Regions from separate parts of the Homo sapiens genome. Here all the other regions are linked to region 3. Evidence: promoter capture Hi-C in 16 types of primary human blood cells and fetal thymus (Javierre and others, 2016). All regions are on one chromosome and are shown on one strand. The core of a region is centred on a gene start or on the middle of the fragment in contact, and the rest is flanking DNA. Distances in the headings are between cores, read along the strand shown. Region 1 has its middle 3.7 kb from the start of MTOR. Region 2 holds the start of ANGPTL7 (angiopoietin like 7). Region 3 holds the start of FBXO2 (F-box protein 2).

Region 1 (3,678 bases), core at 10-2,509, 390 kb after region 3:
GGAGGCTGAGGCAGGAGAATCGTTTGAACCCGGGAGGTGGAGGTTGCGGTGAACTGAGATCACACCACTGCACTCCGAGTGAGACTCCATCTCAAAATAAAATAAAATAAATCAGGGAGGAAGGGAGGGAGAGAAATGAAAATAAACAAAGCTTGCAGCACATTCAGCATTCATCATGAGGTCATGTTGAACTCTGAGCCATTTCCTCATAGTTGTTTGCTGCCTACTGTCCCAGAATCATGCGGACCCTGTCATCAGACAACTTAAGCTTGCAAAACATTGTTTTCCACCTGAGGTATTCTTTCAGGTCCTGCATATCAGTGAAACTACTGATGACAGCCATTGTGAAAGACCCCACAGGGAGCTAACTCACCAAAGAATGCAGTTTCTACATCCTGATGATTTCACCCCCTTTACCCCAACCCATAAACGATACCAAATTTCCAGCCTCTCCCCCTCTACAATCCCCTTAAAAACCCCAGCTCAGGCCGGGCACGGTGGCTCACTCCTGTAATCCCAGCACTTTGGGAGGCCGAGGTGGGCAGATCAAGAGGTCAGGAGTTTGAGACCAGCCTGACCAACACGGTGAAACCGTGTCTCTACTAGAAATACAAAAATTAGCCGGGTATGGTGGCACACACCTATAATCCCAGCTACTCAAAAGGCTGAGGCACAAGAATTGCTTGAACCTGGGAGGCAGAGGTGGCAGTGAGCTGAGATCCTGCCACTGCACTCCAGCCTGGGCAACAGAGCGAGACTCTGTCTCAAGAAAAAACAAAACAAACAAACAAACAAACAAACCCAGCTCAGAATTCCTTGGGGAGATGGATTTGAAGGTCTCCTCCTGTTACAGTAGATAGCTAGTCAGGCATGAGCAGAGCAGGAGAGGCCCCCACCCCCTAACCCCAGGAATGTCAAGCAACCATTGGGTGATGGTCAGGCAGTTGTTAAGCTATCTCGCTAAAATAATAATTGATTGCAGCTGGTGCCAGAGAAAGGCAGTCTCCCAAAAGATAGAAACACCTGAAACTGGTGATCAGCAGCTTCCCATAAGATCTCAGGAGCTGGGCGAGTAGGCTCAAGCATGGGCACTAAGAGGCAAAATCGCAGATGATCACTAACAGGCAAAATCGCCGATGATCTTCCTCTAGGAACACTGGACTGGTAAGGGAAACACATCTTGAGTGAGCATGCCCACAACTCCAGTAAACACACTGCACATGCGCCCCTACCCAAGTGCTGACAGGCCACCATGCATGTGGACAGCCCACCCCAAGGGAAGAATCAGGGGAGAAGGGATGCAAGACCCTGGAAGTATGCCAACCCCGAGTCAAGGTCAAACAGCGCACTTGATCTCTCAGGTCAACTGCTTGGTTCTCTTCCAAGTGTCCTTTACTTCCTTTCATTCCTGCTCTAAAGCTCTTTAATAAACTTCGCTCCTGTTCTAAAACTTGCCTCAGTCTCTCACTCTGCCTTATGCCCCTCAGTTGAATTCTTTCTTCTGAGGAGGCAAGAACTGAGCTTGCTGCAGACCATGTAAATTCAGCGCTGGTAACACTCCCATCTCCTCAGTTGGCTGCCCTGCGATCACTAAACTCTTTCTCTGCTGCAGACTCTGCTGTCTCATTGCATTGGTCAACTGTTGCTGTGCAGCAGGCATAGAATCCTGTTGGAACTACAAGAGAAAGATCTACAAGATGCAGTAAAATTTTAAAAATGCAAAATAGTGCGTATAGTATAACAAAAGGGGAAAATAAAAATATATGTATGGGCTGGGCATGGTGGCTCGTGCCTGTAATCCTAGCATTTTGGGAGGCTGAGGCAAGCGGATCAACTGAGGTCAGGAGTTTGAGACCAGCTTGGCCAATGTGGTGAAACCTTGTCTCTACTAAAAATAAAAAAATTAGCCACGCATGATGGCACAGACATGTAATCCCAGCTATTGGGGAAGCTGAGGCAGGAGAATCACTTTAACCTGGGAGGCAGAGGTTGCAGTGAGCCAAGATCATGCCACTGCACTCCAGCCTGGGCGACAGAGTGAGACTCTGTCTCAAAAAAAAAAAAAAAAAAAAAAAGGAATATACATACGTATATATTTGCTTGTTTTTGCAGACAGAAAATCTAGGGATGCATAAGAAACTGAGAAAATACATAGTCAAGGGGCAAGGGTGGAGCAAGACTTTTCATGATAAATGTAACTTGTTTATTTTGAGATTTGAATAGCGACTATATTGCATATTAGAAGCTTTTAATGATAAAAATATAGATGTTGGGCCAGGCACAATGGCTCACGCCTGTAATCCCAGCACTTTGGGAGGCTGAAGCAGGCGGATCACCTGAGGTCAGGAGTTCAAGACCAGCCTGGCCAACATGGCGAAACCCTGTCTCTACTAAAAATACAAAAATTAGCTGGGTGTGGTGGCAGGTGCCTGTAATCCCAGCTACTCAGGAGGCTGAGGCACGAGAATCACTTGAACCCAGGAGGCGGTGGTTGTAGTGAGCCGAGATTGCGCCACTGCACTCCTGCCTGGGTACCAGAACGAGACTCCATCTAAAAAAAAAAAAAAAAAAAAAAATTGAACATCAGTGAAAATGTAAAATTTAGAGGAATACTTATCTCACAGGAGCAATGAAAAGAGGCTAAATCTAAAGTAGCCATTATTACTCGAGAGGCTGAGGCAAGAGAATCGCTTAAACCTGGGAGGCAGAGGTTGCAGTGAGGTGAGATGGCTCCCCTGCACTCCAGCCTGGGTGACAGAGTAAGATTCTGTCTCAAAAAAAAGGAGCAATTATATATATATATATATTTATATATATATATATATAATTTTTTTTTTTTGAGACAGTGTCTCACTCTGTCAACTCAGGATGGAATGCAGTGGTGCAGTGGTGAGATCACAGCTCACTGCAGCCTTGACCTCCTGGGCTCAAGTGATCCTCCCACCTCAACCTCTTAAGTAGCTGGGACCACAGGTGCATGCCACCACACCAACTAATTTTTTGCATTTTTTGTAGAGATGAGGTTTCACCATGTTGCCCAGGTGGGCTCAAACAATCCACCTGCCTCAGCCTCCCAAAGTGTTGGGTCACTGTGCCTGGCCAATATCATAGATATTAACAATAACAACAACAACAACAAAAACCCTGCCAAACAAAGCATTTTGTTAGCCACGGAATATTGACATCTTTATTTGTTTATTTATTTATTTATTTGAGATGGAGTCTCACTATGTTGCCCAGGCTGGTCTCAAATGCCTGGGCTCATGCAATCTTCCTGCTTTGGCCTCCCAAAGTGCTGGGATTACAGGTGTGAGCCACCGCACCCAGCCCAACTATCTTTAATTTGGCAGTTTAGACCTTCTGAAAACTCATTTCTTCTACCTTCACTTGTTTTTATTACATAAGTAATTGATAATGTATAAAGAAAAAAAGTGTGTCTTTCCCAAATTACATCTTAGTTGTGCACATTTCCCCCATGTAAACAGAGACATATAAGAAATGCATAAATATTTTTGTAAATGGTTGTATTATACTTACATTGTTGCACAACTTGTAATTTTTAAACTAGTTGTGAACCTTTTCCTTCTTAGCAAATATTCATCTAATTACCACTATTTATTGTTATTATTATTATTTGAGACAGGATCTTTCTCTGCTGCCCAGGCTGCAGTGCAGTGG
Region 2 (3,949 bases), core at 542-3,041, 470 kb after region 3:
AGAAAGCCTCCTGTTTGGATGAGCAGGAAGTGGCACGGTCAGATTCCTCTGTCTGGCCTGGTCTTCCGCATGTCTGGTTTCATCTCACAGACCAAATCAGGACTCACTTGTCTGGAAAATGGCCTGAGAATACCTTTCTAATCCCAAACTGAGGGCCCGGAAGTCCATGCTTAGAAAGTGATTGATACATGTTGGTTCAGGTAACAGAATTTTCAAGCTTGGTTTCATGTTAAAACTTTTTCTTAATTTGAGCTGAGGTTAACCATTGACTTAGTCAGTAGAAGCTGATCATGTCTTTGTTCTTCATGTAGTTTATAATGGGACCAATGGTTTTTATATCAGCAAGAAATGACATGTCTATAGGATATGCTCCTTACAACTAATATTTTCCTGATAATTTCAGAAAACCAAATTTTTATCTCTAAACCGTAAATTCATGTTGGCCCACCTGAGCTGAGCTAACCAGAAATAAAAGTTATTTTGCAAAAGAAAGATTAAATTTATCTTATTTTTGGCCTATTAAGTCTATATTTCAGCATTGCATTTAAAAAATCCTGTATTCGGAGAAATTCATTTAAGACCATGGAAAAAAATAGACGTATCACAATTGAGGAACCTTAAGGAGCCGCATCCTTCCTGAACACAAAGGGACTCTTCACATGGTTATGTGTCTCTACACTTAACTCTGAGCCAATGAGAAGAGTTACGTTTACAGAGAGAGGACACAAAATTCCATTAATGCTCATTCCTGGTAAATCTTAGGAACACCAGAGAACTGTTTCTGGCAAAACTTTGCTTCCAGAGGAACAGCTGTTACAGTTTGGTGCTTCCTTGGAATTTCTTGAGATATAGCCTGTCAGCTCTTGGTGAGGAAGTAGCAGAGCTACACCAATCAGGAAGACTTGAACCCTGCTTCTAAGACTTGCTGGGTGACTTTGGGCAAACCATGTAGTATCTCAGCACTCCAAGATGGTAGGCTGAAACACTGTGTGGATAAAAGAGACCCGTGAAGGTGTTAGGTAAACTTACATAGCATTAGAAGTCAAAGGAAATACTGCATAAGCCTTTACTAAAGGGAAAGTGTACCCACAAAAGAGGCCCCAGTAGTGGTTCTGATGACCAGGATATGTAGAAGCAGTGCTGTAGATGGGGAGGCACTCCACGCTCCCTCAGGGGACTGGTCTCCTTACCTGCGGAGGTCTGAGTGACCGTCTGTGCTGCCTGCAGCTGCATGATGTCAATTTGGTTGTTCATCTCGGAGTACTTGCTCTCAGCATCTGTGAGCCGCGACTCCATGCGCTTGCTGTTGCTCTCCAGCTCCATCACCTGCATGACCACGCTGACCCAGTCCCTCTCCTGCTTCTTGTTCAGTTCACTCAGCAGGCTGCTAAGGTTGGCAACTTGGGCCTTGAGCTCCTTCACCTCCTCACAGCAGTTGGCCGCTTTGAGCTGTGGCTGTGCTGGTGTCTTGTGCTTAGAGAGCTTCTGCAGCCACGCTGGGTGGCTGACAAAGGCCACGATGAAAATGCAGAGCCAGGTCACAGCTGAGAGAGGCTTTTTCAGCATCTTTTGTGGGTTTGGGTGAGGAAGGCTCTTCCTTCAGGGGAGTCTGGAGATGCCCAGCTGAGGTCTGCAAAGCTGCAGCAGGCTGACTGAACCTTACGCTTTCACTCTGAGGGCCTCGCCACTTTGTTGTTTTCTCTCTTTCCTTGCTCTTTGCTAGCCTTTCTCAAAGCTTGAGTCTCTGACAGGGGAGCTGAATGGGTAGCCTATAGCTTTCCTTCCAAGCCCGAATGCTCCACAAGTCAGCATCTTAAATATTGTTTGCTGCCTGTACCTCCACCCCTACCATGGCTGCACCAGGCTTTAGCCCCTCCCAGCTCATCTGGGAGGGTCAGGTGCCTGTTGGGTGAAGTCAGCGGCAACTTAGGCCAGAGGAGGGGAGGAGGGAGATGGGGCGAGTCTTTCTTTCCTTGCCTGTACAGTCTCTGGGCTAAGACAAGAGGACTGTGAATTTGTGTGTTTCCAGTTTCGCCTATTAGATTATGCCCCTGCCAGCCACTGGCTCAACTCTATCAGCAAGCAGGACAGGGTCAGAAGAATTTCCAAATTCCGTTCAAAAGGTTATATAACCATGGGGTGAGCGTAAGGTAGGCGAAAGAGACGCTACTCACCCAGGGAGGCCTGTTAATGTAATCCATGCTGTTTATATGAGGATCTGGTATATTTTGACATCCTGCTGAATATGCTTTTATCTAGGCTGATTATTCCCATCTCTGATCATTATTTAGTATTTTATAAAATCCTTACTCAACCTGGATCTAACACTATCTCACATTTGAAATCTTCCAACTTAGAAAAGTTCTAGAAATAGAAGAATAGAGTAAATCTCTTAGGAAGCCAAAAAAAGACTTTGTAGCCACAGGGTTTGGACAGTTGTCTTTTTACATGCTTTCTCCTTCAACAAAGAGAGGGCCAGTATTAGCATATAACACTTGATATTTTGCAAGGAGGTGTCAGAAGATTACAACAGAGATGAAAACTCAGCAGTGCCAAGCATGTCTGGGATTGGTCACCCATGCTTCTGTCAGTTTCTAGGCAGGACAGAGAACAGGCCCATCCTTAGCCCGTGGTTCAAAACTTGGAAAATATATTAAAATATAGAGAAAAGAATCCCTGTCACCTAATAAATCCATATCTAGAGTCTCATTTCCCTCTTTCTTTGCTGGTATGGTTTGCAATTTGAAATTATTCCTCCTCTATTTGTATATGACTTTGTATCTAAAAAACATGAATATTGTAATTTTTCATGTACTATATATGAAGGACAATGCTCTTTTGAAAAGAAATGTGAAAAACATGGAGTTTCAGCAAACATCCTTAAAATAAGCTTTTCACTAAGAATCTATACAAAGGTTCCTCTGTCCTTAAAACAGTAACTCTGTCTTTGGAACATACGATTGCTGTTTCCATGTTATGGAGCCACTCAGGCAGTTACTTGTACTGTTGTAGTCAGCGTGGGTCCTTCCCACATAAGCCTGATGCCTGACAGCTCTCCTCCCATGCCATAATCCCCCAGAGCTCTTTTCCAGTCAGGGCTTCTAGCTCCTCAGAAAGTAATTTCTGTTCAGGCAGCTGGAGTTACTGAACAATTTTTTTTTTTCTCAGAATCAAAAAGCAGTGGAGGATCAGGTGGATCAGAGTTTGTTTTCTCACATACCCAGCCTCCTTTGCCTGCTAAAGGGTGAGGATGTTACTGATACCCTTATAGCAACTTGGCATTCTAATCAAAAGATTCTGTTGAGAATTGGCACTGTCTGCCAGTCTGCTCTCTTTTTGCAAATGTCTAGCCCAGCTGGGCACCACAGCCTTAGCTCCATAGCATTCATTTTAGTAACGAGACTCTGGCCCCAAATATTGGCATCCTACAAGGTCTGCTAAAAATAGGGATTTTCAAGTGGATCTCCTGGCCATCAAATGACACTGAGCTTAAACCACATGCCACAGAAGTGCTATGTACCATACAGTCATGTATAGCAGGGGTCCCTAATCCCCAGGCTGCAGACCTGTACTTGTCCATGGCCTGTTAGGAATAGGGCCATACAGCAGGAGGTGAGTGGCAGGTGAGTGAGCATTACCGCCTGAGCTCTGCCTCCTGTCAGATCGGTGGCAGCATTAGATCCTCACAGGAGTGTGAACCCTGTTGTGAACTGCACATGTGAGGGATCTAGGTTGCGTGCTCCTTGTGAGAATCTAAGTACTGCCTGAAGATCTGAGGTGGAACAGTTTTACCTCAAAACCATCCCCCATCTCCCCACCCCCACCCTGGTCCATAGAAAAATTGTCTTCCACGAAACCAGTCCCTAGTGCCAAAAAGATTGGGGACCACTGATGTATAGCATCCCACGTGACCCTGCTGCCTTGGAACTCTCATGTAACAGTGCAGCAG
Region 3 (3,044 bases), core at 545-3,044:
ACTGTGAGAGAAGTAAAGGTGTTAAACCATCCAAAGTACCCGGCTCATACTAAGTGCTCAATACATGTTCCTGGTGTCATGACTGTGTACTGGAGGCATGCCAGACCCGGCCTGTACCCCACCTTCAGCGCACGGGTTGTGCAGGAGGTTCCTGTGCAGGCTCCGTAAGAAGTAGAAGATCTTCCAGTCGGCCACGGGCTGGTCCCAGTCCTCAGTGATGAAGCCCTCTCGCAGGCACTTGCGTTTCCAGAGGGTCACGAGGTCGATGAGGTCCCGCCAGAGGCTGCAGACCAGGCGGCAGTTCAGCAGCAGCTGGCGGGCGGGCACGTGCGTGAACAGCTCCAGCAGGATGTTCTCGGGCAGCTCGTTGATGTTCCCCACAGCCATGGCTTGTGGCTTCTGGACACCCTCCTGTAGCTGTTGAAAAGCTATGCTGCAGGCCTCATCCCTGCTCTGCCATTTATCTCGGGAGAGCATGGTGCCTCTCCCAGCCTGTTTCCTTCTCTGTAAATGGATGCCTTACCTCCAGGGGTCACTGGGGCGGTCCAAGGAGCTTGGGACACATCAGGTACTTTAATAAAAGGTGAGCTCTGATTTTTTTCTCTGGCCTCTCACAATAGAGGTGGAAGGCACTGCCCAAGGTCAAAAATAAGGGCAGAGGGGGAAGAAGCCCGGATCTTCTTTGATTCCAGGGCCAGCCTTTTTCAGTAGGCCAGTCTTTAATGGGGATATAATGCGCAGCCGGGCAGAGCACCCCAGGCCTCCGGTGCCGTCACCATCCTCTCTCCCATCCTCAGAACATGATGGGAGGAGGAGGCTAATTATCACTGCCTCCCGCGGAGGTCCAAAGGGCTCCAGCCACCTTCTCAAGATCTCAGAGGACATGATCTCCTGCCTAGGTGGGAGTGGCAAGAGGGTGGGCGACAGGGAAGGGCCCTTCCTATCTCCCCACCCCCACTCCCACCCCCAGCCCCGCGGCTGGGCTCCGCCAGCCCCAAGTCCGCCAGCGCGCCTGCAGCCTCCCCTTCCCACGCTGTGCCTTAAAATGCCCCCCAAAGTCTGGGCTCGGACCCCTGTACATCGATGGCGACCCCAGCCCCCGTTCGCAGCCGCGCAGCGCAGCCCGGGCAAGCTCGGCGGCCTGGGCCTGGTCGGTGCCAGGCCTCCCTCGGCAACTGCGGCGCGACCCGGAACCCAGGAGCCTTCCCGGCAGCCCCCGCCCAGCCGCGCCCCCTCCCCAGCGCCCCCCGCGCCCCCTCCTGCCGGTCACCTGCGCTCGGCCGCCGCGGCACGATCCGTTGGGCCGCCCAAGCTGCACCGCCTGGACCTGCGCTTGCCTGGAAAGCGAGGCCCCGCCCCGGCCCGCCAGGCCCCGCCCCCGCGCCCCGCGCCCCGCCCCGCGCAGCGCTGGGCCAGGGACGCACCCCCACCGCGTCGTAGGAAAATTACCTGGTGTGGGGGGTGGGGCGGAAGGCACCTCCTATACTCCGACTCCGCCTGGGCCACCCGCCCCTCACCCTCGGCCTGACCCAGCCTCTCCGTGCCTCCCCTAGCCGCCTCCTCCCAGCAGTCCCCCAGGAGCGAGCTGCGAGATGCCCCAAATCGGACCCCTCCCCAGTTGGAAAAAAAACGACTCCTGACCTTTCCCAGCCTCCTCGGTCCGCTGAGGAACCCGCAGCCCCGGGCCTCGAGCAGACTGCTGGGACTGCGGGGCGGCCGGGCGCGGGGCCAGAGGCGGGGCGGGGCGGGTCGGGTCGGGGGCCTTTAAGAGGCGCGGTCGCCGGGACCGACACAGACGCGGACAGCGCCGGGACTCGCCGCCCCGGGACTCGCGCAGCCCGCAGCGCTCCGGCTCCTCCTCTCGCGACCGCCCTCCGCAGCGATGGACGGAGACGGTGACCCAGGTAGCCGACGCCTGGACCGCTCGCTGCGGCGGGGAGGGGAGATGGGGTCGGCGGGCGAGCGCTGCACAGAGGGGCGTCAGAGAGCGAGGGGACCCGGAGACCTGGCGCGGCAAACTTTCACGCCAGCGAAGCCCTAGAGGCGGTCTCCAAAGAGCACGTCTCTCTGCTATCTTGGTCTGGCGGGAGGCCTTGAGAGGCGACTGGCAAGGAGAGAGAACTCCTGGGTCCCATTTAGCCAGGAAGTAGCACCAGAGGACCCCCACATTCCCGCCTCCCAGCTTCCTGAGGGTCTGTCTGGCGGGGGCCTGGGATGCGTCTGGGAGGGAGGCTGCGAGCCTTTTCTTTCATCAGCTCTTCCAGCTCTGGGCCTTGGGCCGTCTGAATCCCCGTGGGTTCCTTGGGGTCCCAGGCCTGGCCTCACCTATTCCTGCCTTCCTCCTGAGCTCCCTTGTCTGGAGGGGCTGCCCCTCCCCGGGGTGGTGAGATGCCCAGTGGGGACCCGACTAGCGGTGAGGGAGCGTTGGGGGCAGCTTTGGCTGGTGCTCAGGGCCTTCCCAGGCTGCCCAGTCATCCTCTCTGGCACCCAAGACCCCTCACCCCCATCCCTCCAACTCCCTGCGGGGCCTGCAGGGGTTGCCTGCTGAGTCAGGATGGAAACAAGACCTGCCTGCAGACAGCCCTCACTCTTTCCTCATCAGGTCCAGCTGGGGATGGGCATTGCTTGGGTTAGGCGGTGGCAAACAGACTGATGAAAGCTCAGGCCCCCCCTCACCCCCCATTCCCCCGCCTCCAGCCCTGAAAATTCCAGCTCTCGCAGCCCTTGCTCCCAATCCACGGCCTTCTGGCCACACCCTCTGTAGGGCTCCAGAACTGGCTCCTGCTTTTTCCCAGGGATCAGCTATACCCTGGACTCTGGGGCCCACTCCAGGTGAGTGAGTCAGCCTCGCAGGCAGGCAGCTTCCAGGGGCCAGATAACTTTCCGCCGGCAACAATGTGGGGAGTTGTGTGTGTAAGAGAGAGGGTGGGGGGAGCTGTAATTGGATCTGGGGCCTCGAGTGCCAGGCCCCGGGGCCAGAAGAGGGGACTGGGTGAGGTGCACCTTTCGGGGAGCATCAGGTGTCCGATGGGGCCAGGGCCGGA

Evidence for each region. Contacts are between HindIII fragments. The CHiCAGO score rates a contact against its expected background, and 5 or more counts as called.
Region 1: a fragment that was not itself captured here is called in contact with the fragment with the promoter of FBXO2 in region 3 in 7 of 17 cell types (activated CD4 T cells, endothelial precursors, total CD4 T cells and 4 more); the score reaches 9.9 in activated CD4 T cells.
Region 2: a contact is called between the fragment with the promoter of ANGPTL7 here and the fragment with the promoter of FBXO2 in region 3, in 4 of 17 cell types (M1 macrophages, endothelial precursors, M2 macrophages and 1 more). The highest score is 8.6, in M1 macrophages.

What each region holds. Positions count from the first base shown.
Region 1 is chr1:11,264,399-11,268,076 of GRCh38, reverse strand. No RefSeq gene overlaps it. Among named protein-coding and RNA genes, the nearest start is that of MTOR, 3.7 kb to the right of the region's middle. The HindIII fragment of the contact is 1,977 bases long and covers 271-2,247 here.
Region 2 is chr1:11,187,197-11,191,145 of GRCh38, reverse strand. It overlaps ANGPTL7 (angiopoietin like 7), which reads right to left and starts at 1,791. Exons shown (of 5, transcript NM_021146.4): 1 at 1,191-1,791. The coding sequence starts at 1,566. The region is part of intron 28 of MTOR (mechanistic target of rapamycin kinase); the gene reads left to right. RefSeq lists an enhancer at 938-1,438. The HindIII fragment of the contact is 1,155 bases long and covers 1,738-2,892 here.
Region 3 is chr1:11,653,179-11,656,222 of GRCh38, reverse strand. FBXO2 (F-box protein 2) reads left to right here and starts at 1,794. Exons shown (of 6, transcript NM_012168.6): 1 at 1,794-1,904. The coding sequence starts at 1,883. FBXO44 (F-box protein 44) reads right to left here and starts at 1,346. Exons shown (of 6, transcript NM_033182.7): 1 at 1,271-1,346; 2 at 123-417. The coding sequence starts at 387. RefSeq lists silencers at 1,115-1,184, 1,235-1,464, 1,705-1,844. The HindIII fragment of the contact is 12,019 bases long and covers 1-3,044 here.